Linked DNA regions of Homo sapiens: region 2 is linked to region 1. The links are contacts of gene promoters, found by promoter capture Hi-C in blood cells and fetal thymus (Javierre and others, 2016). All regions are on one chromosome and are shown on one strand. The core of a region is centred on a gene start or on the middle of the fragment in contact, and the rest is flanking DNA. Distances in the headings are between cores, read along the strand shown. Region 1 holds the start of OMD (osteomodulin). Region 2 overlaps CENPP (centromere protein P).

Evidence for each region. The method cuts DNA at HindIII sites, captures the fragments that hold promoters and counts their contacts. A CHiCAGO score of 5 or more calls a contact.
Region 2: a contact is called between a fragment that was not itself captured here and the fragment with the promoter of OMD in region 1, in 1 of 17 cell types (megakaryocytes). The highest score is 5.4, in megakaryocytes.

The regions. Positions count from the first base shown.
Region 1 is chr9:92,419,987-92,425,861 of GRCh38, forward strand. OMD (osteomodulin) reads right to left here and starts at 4,485. Exons shown (of 3, transcript NM_005014.3): 1 at 4,216-4,485. The region is part of intron 5 of CENPP (centromere protein P); the gene reads left to right. The HindIII fragment of the contact is 8,215 bases long and covers 1-5,368 here.
Region 2 is chr9:92,358,367-92,363,796 of GRCh38, forward strand. The region is part of intron 4 of CENPP (centromere protein P); the gene reads left to right. Among named protein-coding and RNA genes, the nearest start is that of CENPP, 35 kb to the left of the region's middle. The HindIII fragment of the contact is 5,261 bases long and covers 1,127-5,430 here.

The DNA of each region.
Region 1 (5,875 bases), core at 3,235-5,734:
TAAATGTAACTATTGTGTGTATTTGGAATTTGAAGTAGTTATTCAGGTAGAGTCAGAGACCCTTGAGCTCTCTTCCTGCAGTGATACTTTCCTTCATTCTTCCTCACCATTTGCTCCCATGCACCCGCATCCTGGGTTTTGTCTTTTCTATTACTGGAACCCTTCATACTCTTCATTTTGAGTATTCCGCACTCAGACCACTATCTCTATGTAGTAACTCCAGCTGCAATAATTCTCCAATTTCCGTGGAACCTCAGCTATATTGATTCTACTGTTTTTCACTGTCCCTCATCCATACCTCCCAACATTGTCAGTTCCTTCTTACCAACTTAGACCCCATAGTTGATCACTATCGTTGCTCTTTTGCACATGCCCTAAACTTTCTGGCTCCTTCAATCTGCCAAACTCCAACTCTGGTTACTCCAATTCTCTACCTACTCACAGCCTGACTGTCACAGCTGAATGTAACTAAAGAAAAACAGGAGCATGGTGACTGGTCTCACTCTCGATTCAAGACCACTAACCTCAAGTGCTGTCCTGCTGCATTTCCTTAGACCATCCTCCTTCCCTCTCTTCTACGCTACTGTTTTGTAACTTTCCTCTCTGAAGCCTCTAATACCTTATTCCCCATTATTGTTTTTGGGTGATGACCTTGCTTCTTTTTTTTAAGTCAAGAAAATAGGATCAAGATATCATTTATTTCTATTTTCTTATATGTATCCCTACCTACAAGAAAATGCCAAAATAGCAATGGTTTGGGTTTTGTTTTTGTTTTTTTTTTAACAATATGTGCTTTTGAAATTCATGATGTTTCTTTGTGCAACTCTATATTACATCCATTTTTCTTTCTTTTCTGTGAGATTCGTGGAAGATGTGGCATTTGACCTAGACTTTGAAGGAGTGTTGAGGTTCTCATAGAGGGAAGTGAGGAAGAAGATCTCTGGCTAGAAGAGATGAGCAAAAACATAGAAGCAACAGATGGTGATGTGTTTGGGAAATGTGGTTGGTTAACTCTTGAAGGAGCAAAATAAGACTATTAAATCCAGATCTGAAGGGATTAGCCTAACTTTTTTTTTCTGAGACAGTCTCACTCTGTCACCCAGGCTGGAGCGCAGTGGTGCACTCTTGGCTCACCCTCCATCTCCTGGGCTCAAGTGACTCTCTTACTTCAGCCTCCTGAGTAGCTGGGATTACAGATGCGTGCCACCACACCTGGCTAATTTTTTAATTTTTTGTAAAGACAGGGTTTTGCCATGTTGCTCAGGCTGGTCATGAACTTCTGGGCTCAACCAGTCTGCCCCCCTCAGCCTCCCAAAGTGCTGGGATTACAGGCATGAGCCACCACCCCCGGCCTTGGAGGGCCTAAATTCTGACCTGAGGAATTTGCACTCTGGGAATGAATGCCTAATTTAATGAATTAACATATTTGGGCTGTGATTTCACACTACAGTCAGTGTTCGTGGGTGAAAAAGTAGAGAATCTTGGAAGGAGGTAGATTTAAGGAGTTATGGTATCATACCAAAGGGCAGTGTTCAGAGCAGGCTCTCCTTGCTGGGCTGGAAGCTCCCAGTGGGTCTGCTTGGAAATGCTTATTCACCTAGTGTACTCTACTACTTTACTGTATGTAAACATGCTTAGTGAAGCACTTTACAAATATTAGTAGTTAGTTTGATTGGGTTACATCAGTTTACCGTTGTCCTGAATTATTTCTAGTGATGAGGCACTATGCTAAGTTGGTGGAGAATACAGAAATGAAGAAGACGTGAAGCCATAGTCCCTTCTGTAAAGAGCAAACAGCTTAGTGGAGGAGAGAGATACAACAAAGTGAACCCTAATCTAAGGCAGAGGGTAATATCCTTTATAGCAGAGATAGGCAATGCTGTGGGGCCAGTGGCTTACCTCAGCCTTACGGAGACAGGAAAGTCTTTTGTAGACATCATTTGACCCAGACTTTGGGAGATTAATAGGAATGGATATAGAATATTCTATACATTTTATACTCATTGATGATATTTTATGTATAATTTTATAATATTTTATTGTACTTATTATAGTATAACATATTAACTTTTTTTTTTTTGGAGACAAGAGTCTCGTGCTGTCACCCAGGCTGGAGTGCAGTGGCACAATCTCGGCTCACTGCAACCTCCGCCTCCCAGGCTCAAGTGATTCTTGTGCCTCAGCCTCCTGAGTAGCTGGGATTACAGGCGTGCACCACCACGACTGGCTACATTTTTTTGTATTTTTAGTTAAGACGGGATTTTGCCATGTTGGCCAGCCTGGTCTCGAACTCCTGACCTCAGGTGATCCGCCCACCTCAGCCTCCCAAAGTGCTGAGATTACAGGTGTGAGCCACCTGCCTGGCTGAAAACTCAGCTTGAATTTTATCCCTTTGTTGAGAACATTAGCTAATCATCAGTTATCAACCTTACATTTGAGAATTAGAGTCTGTTGTTCAACAACTATGAAAAATTGTTGGGAAAAAAGAAGAAGGCCTTGAATCAAGACATGACTGGGGCGTCTCTGAAAATAAAGAGGTTTTTAATATTGTCTGCTTTCCGCCTTTGTGAGCACCTAAGAAGAAAGTCTTTCCTTGAGGAACAATTTCTCTTCTAAACCTGAACTTATCTTAAACATCCTTGTCCTCCTCCCTCCACGTTCCTAACCATGTAGTACAATCTTGTCCCACTCCCTTTGATTAAGTGCAGTTTTCTGTTTTGAAATCCATCCTGTTTTCATCTATATGCTCATTATTTTCTATGCCTCTTGCTCTTTCCCCAGGATAATTTCCCCTGTTACAACAATCTCTTATTTTATCCAAATTTTTCATTCCCCAACTAATCTCTTCTGAGTCATTTGCTAAGCATATTTTTGTTACTTCTGCTTTTCATACTCTACAATGTATGCCTTGTTCTCTATAGGATAACTCACAGCAATATTGTATAATTCATTGTTGATCATCTCATTTCCTAATATCTTTTAACAGAATCTAATACAATGCAGTGTTATAAGTGCTCAAAGGTGTGTTGAATGAATAAGTTAATAAGTTATAGGTTAAGGCTTGCTAGCAAATGCTTCTCTCTACTAATGTTGATTATTCCTAGGCATTTATTTCACTATGATAATTTCTTCAAATGAACATATTCATGAGAGCTTGACTGTTCCTTTTTCTATTGAATATTTCTTCATCACAATATACTGTATTCCTCACTTTCCTAGTACATCGTGTAGCAGGAAAAGAACAAATGTGAAAAAGAATGTTTGGAGCAAAGTAATATATATATATTACCAGTTTTCAATGTGAATTTTTCATATTATAGCAATAAAACCATCTGTGTCATAATATTTCTCTTACTTGGAGAAAAGCACTCGTGTTCATCAAGAAAAGTTTCAATTGAAATTACTAATGAGGTATAATTTACTTGTTCAGGAAAAGTTTAAAGTAAAATCCTCAACATTTTATTATGTTAAAGACATAATTGTTTTTATTTGTATGACATAGAAACTAGCATATAAGAAAGCAAATATTAGCATATAATTTAGATTTTTCCAAAAAAGTTCTAAATTTTAATTTTATAAAATTTTTTTGCTATTAAAAATACAATTACCTCAATTATTTTTAGCCATAATACATTTAAATCGTAATTAACTAAAACCCAAAGTAACTAGATCCTTCAATAGACTAGATAGAGCATCTGTATTTTCCCTTTGAGAAAGAAGTAAATGAAAAGAAAAACATTCTATATCAGGGATTTAGTCAGTAGAGAAATTTGGAGAAAATCTTGAGTGAAATTTGTACAAATGCCCATCAACCCCCCAACCGGAATCACTAGCATTGCTCAGCTGTATGCCTCAAAGGCATTAGCTGGTTCTTTGTTACTTATAATTCATAGAAAAAAAGAGACCTAAGGAAGAGAAAGAGATTGATTCCTTTAACCTGAGAATCTTTCCTTTCATTCAAAGTAAAAAAAAATCTAAACAAAGATTTTTTATTGGGTAAATCTTAAATGAGAAAGTTAAACTCATTATACTACTTTATTTGAACATTTTGCCTAATCAAAAGTTTAACATAACTTTTTTACCAGATTTTGCTTCCAAAAATTGTGCTTTTGTAATAGATGCAGTCTATTTTAATATTAAAAAATCCAATATACTTTTAAATTTTAACAGTAGGAATACATTCTTAAAAAATTGAAAATTATTTTATTATCATACCTGTTCAATTTGCTTTAGTTTTCAGGGGTTGATGAATTTGTAAATCCTTTAAATGAATCAGAAATTCCTAAATTCTTTAACTGAGTCTCTTAAAAATCCACAGTAACTCTGTGTCCAGACAGGGCTGTCTCTTGAATTACTGTAGCAATTTAAGCAAATACAATCTTCTTGGAAAACACTCGGGTTGAATTAAAATTATGTATTTCTTTTCATTACATGAAACTTTGTGGATTCAAATTAAGATGCTTGTGTTCTTGGTCAGATTTATGTGGCTTACTTCTTTCTTTTCCCCTTAATTTTGGTTTGAGGTGTGGCAAGAATTTCCTCTAATGTGAAAGGCAAACAAAACTAAATGAAACAGCATGTACTGATTACTGTTTTTATTTTCATTTTCATGCCAAAGAATTCTTCAAATTAAGGCCCACTGTGACAGGGAACTCCAGAGTCTCAGCAACTTAAGGTGGAACTCAAAATTTCTTTTTTAATTTTTTGAGATGGAGTCTTGCTTTGCTGCCCAGGCCAGAGTATAGTGGTGCAACCTCGGCTCACCACAACCTCCACCTCCCGGGTTCAAGCAATTCTCCTGTCTCAGCCTCCCAAGTAGCTGGGATTACAGGCATGAGCCACCATGCCTGGCTAATTTCTTGTATTTTTAGTAGAGATGGGGTTTCACCATGTTGGCCAGGCTGGTCTTGAACTCCTGACCTCAGGTGATCCTCCCGCCTCCACCTCCCAAATTGCTGGGATTACAGGCATGAGCCACCACGCCTGGCCTGGAACTCAAAATTTCTTGAGTCCCTTGGTTATTCAACACCTAGGTTCATATCAGTACTTCTATTTGTTAAAACAAGAAATCAGGATTAGAAACATAACATTTCGCATTGTTTATTTTTAAAATGCACTTGATTGTCATTGCTTACACAGATTAACTATACGACTTTTCTATACAAAGGCTTACATCTTCATTTTTATCATCATTTTTATCAGCTATCTCATTTCTCCTCTTTTTGGCAGATGTACCCACTAGAATGACTTCTAATATCCTTTCAGATAAAATTAGTCAGTTGGTTGCACTCCAAAGGTGTATCTTCAATTTGCCTGTTTTTACTATTGCACAAAATAATTCTGTAGTATTGAATAAAATGGGATGAAAAGCTTATGTTACTCAATAGCTATTGCCTTTATTTTGTAGATTTAGAAAATTTCTTCATTTCATAGAGCTATCTCTCCTGAATAGTAACAGTTAACTGTTTTTAATGTTTAATTTTTACACTGTTCTCATATTCTAAACAGAGAGTTGACTTGTGTCTTTTGGCAGTAGATTCGGAGTTCATTTTGGGGGGGAATTCTTTTAAGCTTTTACAAACTAATAAGATAAAGTGAATCCTGGAGTTCATTTTGTTTCCTCAAAAAAGTGTTTTCCATTAGCTTTTTACAAAGAACTCACAAGATTTATTTTGTTAAACTTTGCATTAAGAAAAGTATACAGTGTTTCAAGTGATGCTTTGGCAGTTGTAAAAATCTAGTCTATTATTTGAGACATTGGTATGAAAAACGTGGCAGACCACACTTTAGCCAAGATTCCATCTTGTTACTGATCTTTTCCATATGTTTTCTGTTAGTGTCTTTGTTCTTAAAACTCAGGCTTTCACTAAGGAAG
Region 2 (5,430 bases), core at 2,507-5,006, 62 kb before region 1:
CGAGTAGCTGGGATTACAGGTGCCTGCTGCCACATTCAGCTAATTTTTTGTATTTTTAGTAGAGATGGGGTTTCACCATGTTGGTGTGGCTGGTCTTGAACTCCTGACCTCAAGTGATCCACCCACCTTGGCCTCCCAAAGTGCTAGGATTACAGGCATGAGCCACCACGCTCAGCTAGTTTCCTTACATTCTGTTCACTTTTCCTCATTCTTTTTTCTTTTTATTTCTCAGACTTGACAATTTCTATTGTCCTATCTCCAGGTTTGGTGATTTTTCTTTCTGCCTACTCAAATCTGCCTTTGAATTCCTGTAGTGAATTTTTCATTTTAATTATTGTACTTTTCACTTCCAGAATTTCTTTTGGTTTTCTTTTAGGTTTCTTTCTTTGTATTGATATTTCTATTGTGTTCCTGTATCATTTTCTTAACTTTCTCCAGATCTTTCTTTAGCATTTTTAAGATGGTGGTTGTAAAGTCTGTATGGTAGATCTACCATCAGATTTTTTTTCAGGGATGCTGTCTATTCATTTATTTTTTTTCATTTCACGAGGCCATTCTTTTGTATCTCTTTTTTTTTCTTTCTTTCTTTTTTTTTTTTTTGAGATGGAGTTTCGCTCTTGTTGCCCAGGCTGGAGTGTAATGGCATGATCTGGGTGCACTGCAACCTCTGCCTCCCAGGTTCAAGCGATTCTCCTGCCTCAGCCTCCCAAGTAGCTAGGATTAAAGGCATGTGCCACCACACCCAGCTAATTTTGTATTTTTAGTAGAGAGGGGGTTTTGCCATGTTGGTCAGGCTGGTCTTGAACTCCCGGCCTCAGGTGATCCGCCTGCCTTGGCCTTTCAAAGTGTTGGGATTACAGGCATGAGCCACCGTGCCCAGCCTTCTTTTATATTTCTTTGTATCCCTTGTGTTTTGTTGTTATTGTTGTTGAAAAGGGCTCATTTGAACCTAATAATGTGGTAACCCCCAAAGTCAGATTCTCCCTCTTCCCCAGGGTTTACAGGCTTGTTATTGTTATTATTTATTTTATTTATTTATTTATTCATATTTTTGTAGGCCATCTCTGTGCCAGGGATTAACCTGAGGTATAAACTTAAGGTCTTCTCAGTTTGTTTCTGGGCTTGAAGCTTTCCATGGGTATGTGCAATCTCTTACAGAATCTCCCCTTATATGCAGTTATTTGTCAATGTCCTAGTCTTGATTGTTCGGCTCTTAGAAAGGGGAAATGAAGAAAATGAAGGTGGGAAAAAAGGAGCTCTGGCCTTTTAAGTCCCCTGGAAATCACTTCAACTGGAGGAAGCAGGGTTTTCAAAAGTGTGGGGATGTGTAACTACAATGGCTGCCTGACTCTTTGTCTACACTTCTGTGATAAGAAGCCGCAGTGAACAAAACACAGATCCTTTATGGCTGGAGGACAGGGTCCTTTTTTTTTTTTTGCTTGCTCTGGCTTCTATAAGCTGTGTGTAAGCTGCTCTGGTTATACTCACATGACTGCCTGCCAGGGGGGTGGGGGTGAAGAAATGGGTAGCTGCTGCTATACTAAGAGCTGAAATTTGCTAAAATTAATCACAATTTACCATCCAAGCCCTTCTCCAAGCCTTTGCCTGGATGTTGCCAGCCTTCATTAGACTCAGAGTTTCCAAATGGTTATATCAAACAGATTCTGCCAGTGAAATTGTTATATAAGTGGAGAGATGGAATTCTGGTACTTCCTATTCTGTCATCTTCTCAAAACCCTCTCCTTTAAATATATTTTAATATTCTCTTTTAATTTATTTCATTCACGTTTTGGCTATATTTGTATTATTTTTTATTGGCTGCTGTGGGGATTATAACATACGTAACCTAACTTTTAACAGTCTATTTAGATTTGATACTTTACCACTGCAGTTATAGTCTTGTGGTCCTATAACCACATGGATCACTTCCCCTTCCTGCTTCATGTGGTAGTTTTCATGTGAATTATATTCACATGTATGTGCTGAAAAACTCCATTAGTCCAGTCTGAGCAACAAAGGAAGACCCTATCTCTACAAAAACAACAACAAAATTAGCTTATTGTAGTGGGGTGCACTCGTAGTCCCAGCTACTTGGTAGGCTGAGGTAGGAGAATTACTTGAGCCCAGGAGTTCGACAGTGCAGTGAGCTGTGATTATGCTATTGCACTTTAGCCTGGGAGACTGAGACCCTGTCTCAAAATATAATAATGATAATAATAAAACTCCATTAGATAACATTATAATGTTTTACTTCAACTGTCATACATACTTTAAATAACTTAAGAAAAGGCTAATAGTTTGTCATATTTCTCCAGATTTTTATTTTTTATTTTTATTTATTTATTATTATTATTTTTTGAGATGGAGTCTTGCTGTCGCCCAGGCTGGAGTGCAATGGCGTAATCTCAGCTCACTGCAAGCTCTGCCTCCTGGGTTCACACCATTCTTCTGCCTCAGCCTCCCGAGTAGCTGGGACTACAGGCGCCCACCACCACACCCGGCTAATTATTTTTGTATTTTTTAGTAGAGACAGGGTTTCACTGTGTTAGCCAGGATAGTCTCGATCTCCTGACCTCGTGATCCGCCCGCCTCGGCCTCCCAAAGTGCTGGGATTACAGGCGTGAGCCCCCGCCCCCGGCCATATTTATCTAGATTTTTAATGTTTCTGCTGCTGTTCTTGATATGGAGCCTTTTTAGGACATGTTGCATGTATCATGGCTCATTTCCCATAAATACTTAAGTGTGTATTTTTATTATTTTACTTTATTTATTTATTTATTTATTTATTTATTGAGATGGAGTCACACTCTGTTGCCCAGGCTGGAGTGCAGTGGCAAGATCTTGGTTCACTGCAACCTCTGCCTCCCAGGCTCAAGTGATTCTCCAGCCTCAGCCTCCCTAGTAGCTGGGACTACAGGCACATGCCACCACATCTGGCTAATTTTTGTATTGTTAGCAGAGACGGGGTTTCGCCGTATTGGCCAGGCTGGTCTCGAACCCCTGACCTCAAGTGATCCATGCACCTCAGCCTCCCAAAGTGTTGGGATTACAGGCATGAGCCACCGTACCTGGCCTTATTTTATTTTATTTTATTTTATTTTATTTTATTTTATTTTATTTTATTTTATTTTGAGATGGAGTCTTGCTCTGTCACCCAGGCTGGAGTGCAGTGGCACAATCTTGGCTCACTGCAACCTCCGCTCCCCAGGTTCAAGTGATTCTCCTGCCTCAGCCTCCTGAGTAGCTAGGATTGCAGGCATGCACCACCACGCACAGCTAATTTTTTTGTATTTTTAGTAGAGATGGGGTTTCACCATGCTGGCCAGGCTGGTCTCGAACTCCTGACCTCAAGTGATCCGCCCACCTTGGTCTCCCAAAGTGCTGGGATTACAGGCATGAGCCACTGCACCCGGCTCAAATGTGCAGTTTTAAGTTTAGAGATATTCCCTTATATAATTACAGTGCAGTGATCAACTTCATAAATTGACATTGATATGATACTTTTATCTAATATGCTTTCCATATGCCAGTTTTCTTAGTTGATCTCATAATATCTTACATTGCATTTTCTTTCTCCTTGAACCTGGGGAGTGGAGGTTGCAGTGAGCTGACATTGTGCCACTGCACTCCAGCCTGGGTGACAGAGCAAGACTCCATCATAAAATAAAATAAGATAAGATAAGATAAAATAAATTCAAGTATTGCATTTAGTTGTCATGTCTCTTTAGTTTCCTTTAATCTGGAGTTATTCCCTAGCCTTTCTTTGCCATGTTTCACTTTGTCATCTTTTTAAAAAGCTCTTCCTGCAACCATCCTGAGCAACAGAGCAAGGCTCTATCTCTTCAAAAAGTTAAAAAAAAAAAATTAGCCTGGCATAGTGGTGCATGCCTATAGTTCTAGCTACCTGAGGGGCTGAGGCAAGAGTATCATTTGAGACTGCAGTGAGCTATGATCAAGCTACTGCATTCCAGCCTGGGCCACAGGGCAAGATTTGTCTCTAAAAAAAAAGTTCTTTCCACTTTTTTGTTTGTTTCTTTTTCTTTCTACTTTTTTCCCCCAATAGAATGTTTCTTATTTTGTCTTTGATCATCTATTGTGATCAGTTGATGCTATGCCTTCTTAGGCAAATTCTGCATAGATGATATTTTGTCCTTCTCAGCATAGCTGTCCCTCATAGGTGATATTAAGTTTTTCACTCAATGAAACTGTTGTATTTCTCCACTATATGATAACTAATTTTTTCTCCTTTGGCTCCAATATGCAATCTGTGGGGACAGACTTGATGACCACACAATTACTACTCTTTATTAATATTTCTTCCTCAATTTAGCATCTATGATTATTCCTACCTTATCTACTCTCTACTATGATGTTTGCAAAATGATGATTTTTCAACTCTAGCACTTCCTCCACATTTCTCAGTAGGCATTTGGCATTATGCTTAAGAAATAGATCACCATTCTCTATGTATGTATATGTATCCATATTTATAATATGTATGGATTCATTCATTTCTTTTTTTTCCAACGATTTATAATTTCTTAATCTTATTTTGGTGCTCAAAGTGTCCCGGATTTGATCAGAGGGAATCTCTTTAAGCCGGCTCCTGAATCCATGTGTTAATTCCTTATTATATTTTTGAGCACTTCCTCATATTCTGTCATTAAAAGATTTTCCAGGCTCACAATATACCTGTCCTGCCCTAGGTGTAGATTCAGCAATTTATCTGAGGAACCAGAGTTTCTTTTTGTGGGAAATGGCATTAGAGACTGAGATCTGACACTAGGTCTGTTCATTGCTATTGGAGTGTCTTTGCTTCTTGGTTCTTTCAACAAACAGTACTAGGAAATATGTATTTATACATATATACACACACACACACACACACAAACCTGTATGTAAGAAATCATGATTCATATAATATTCATGTGCACAAATAGTCATGTGCCGCATAACTACTTTTTGATCAGTGACAGACTGCATATACAAAGGTAGTCTCATGATTACATTACTGTATTTTACTGTACCTTTCCTATGTTTAGATATGTTAAATGCACAAATACTTAACATTGTTTTACAATTGCCTACAGTATTTAGTATAGTAATGCTGTATAGGTTTATAGCCTAGGAGCAATAGGCCATACCATATAGCCTCGGTTTGCAGTAGGCTGTACCATTTAGGTTTAAGTACACTGTATGATGTTCCTATAGTGAATAAATCATCTGACAATGCATTTATCAGAATGTATCCCTGTTGTTAAGCTACACATGACTATAAATATTTACAAAATTATGAGTGTACACCAAGGCCTCCAGTTCTACTCTAGCTTATCCCCAGTTTATAGTATGTATGTGTTTATGTGTCTATATACATACTATCATTTCACATTTCTATGTCCTTTCTTCCATATTGAGAAACTTGGCTCCTAG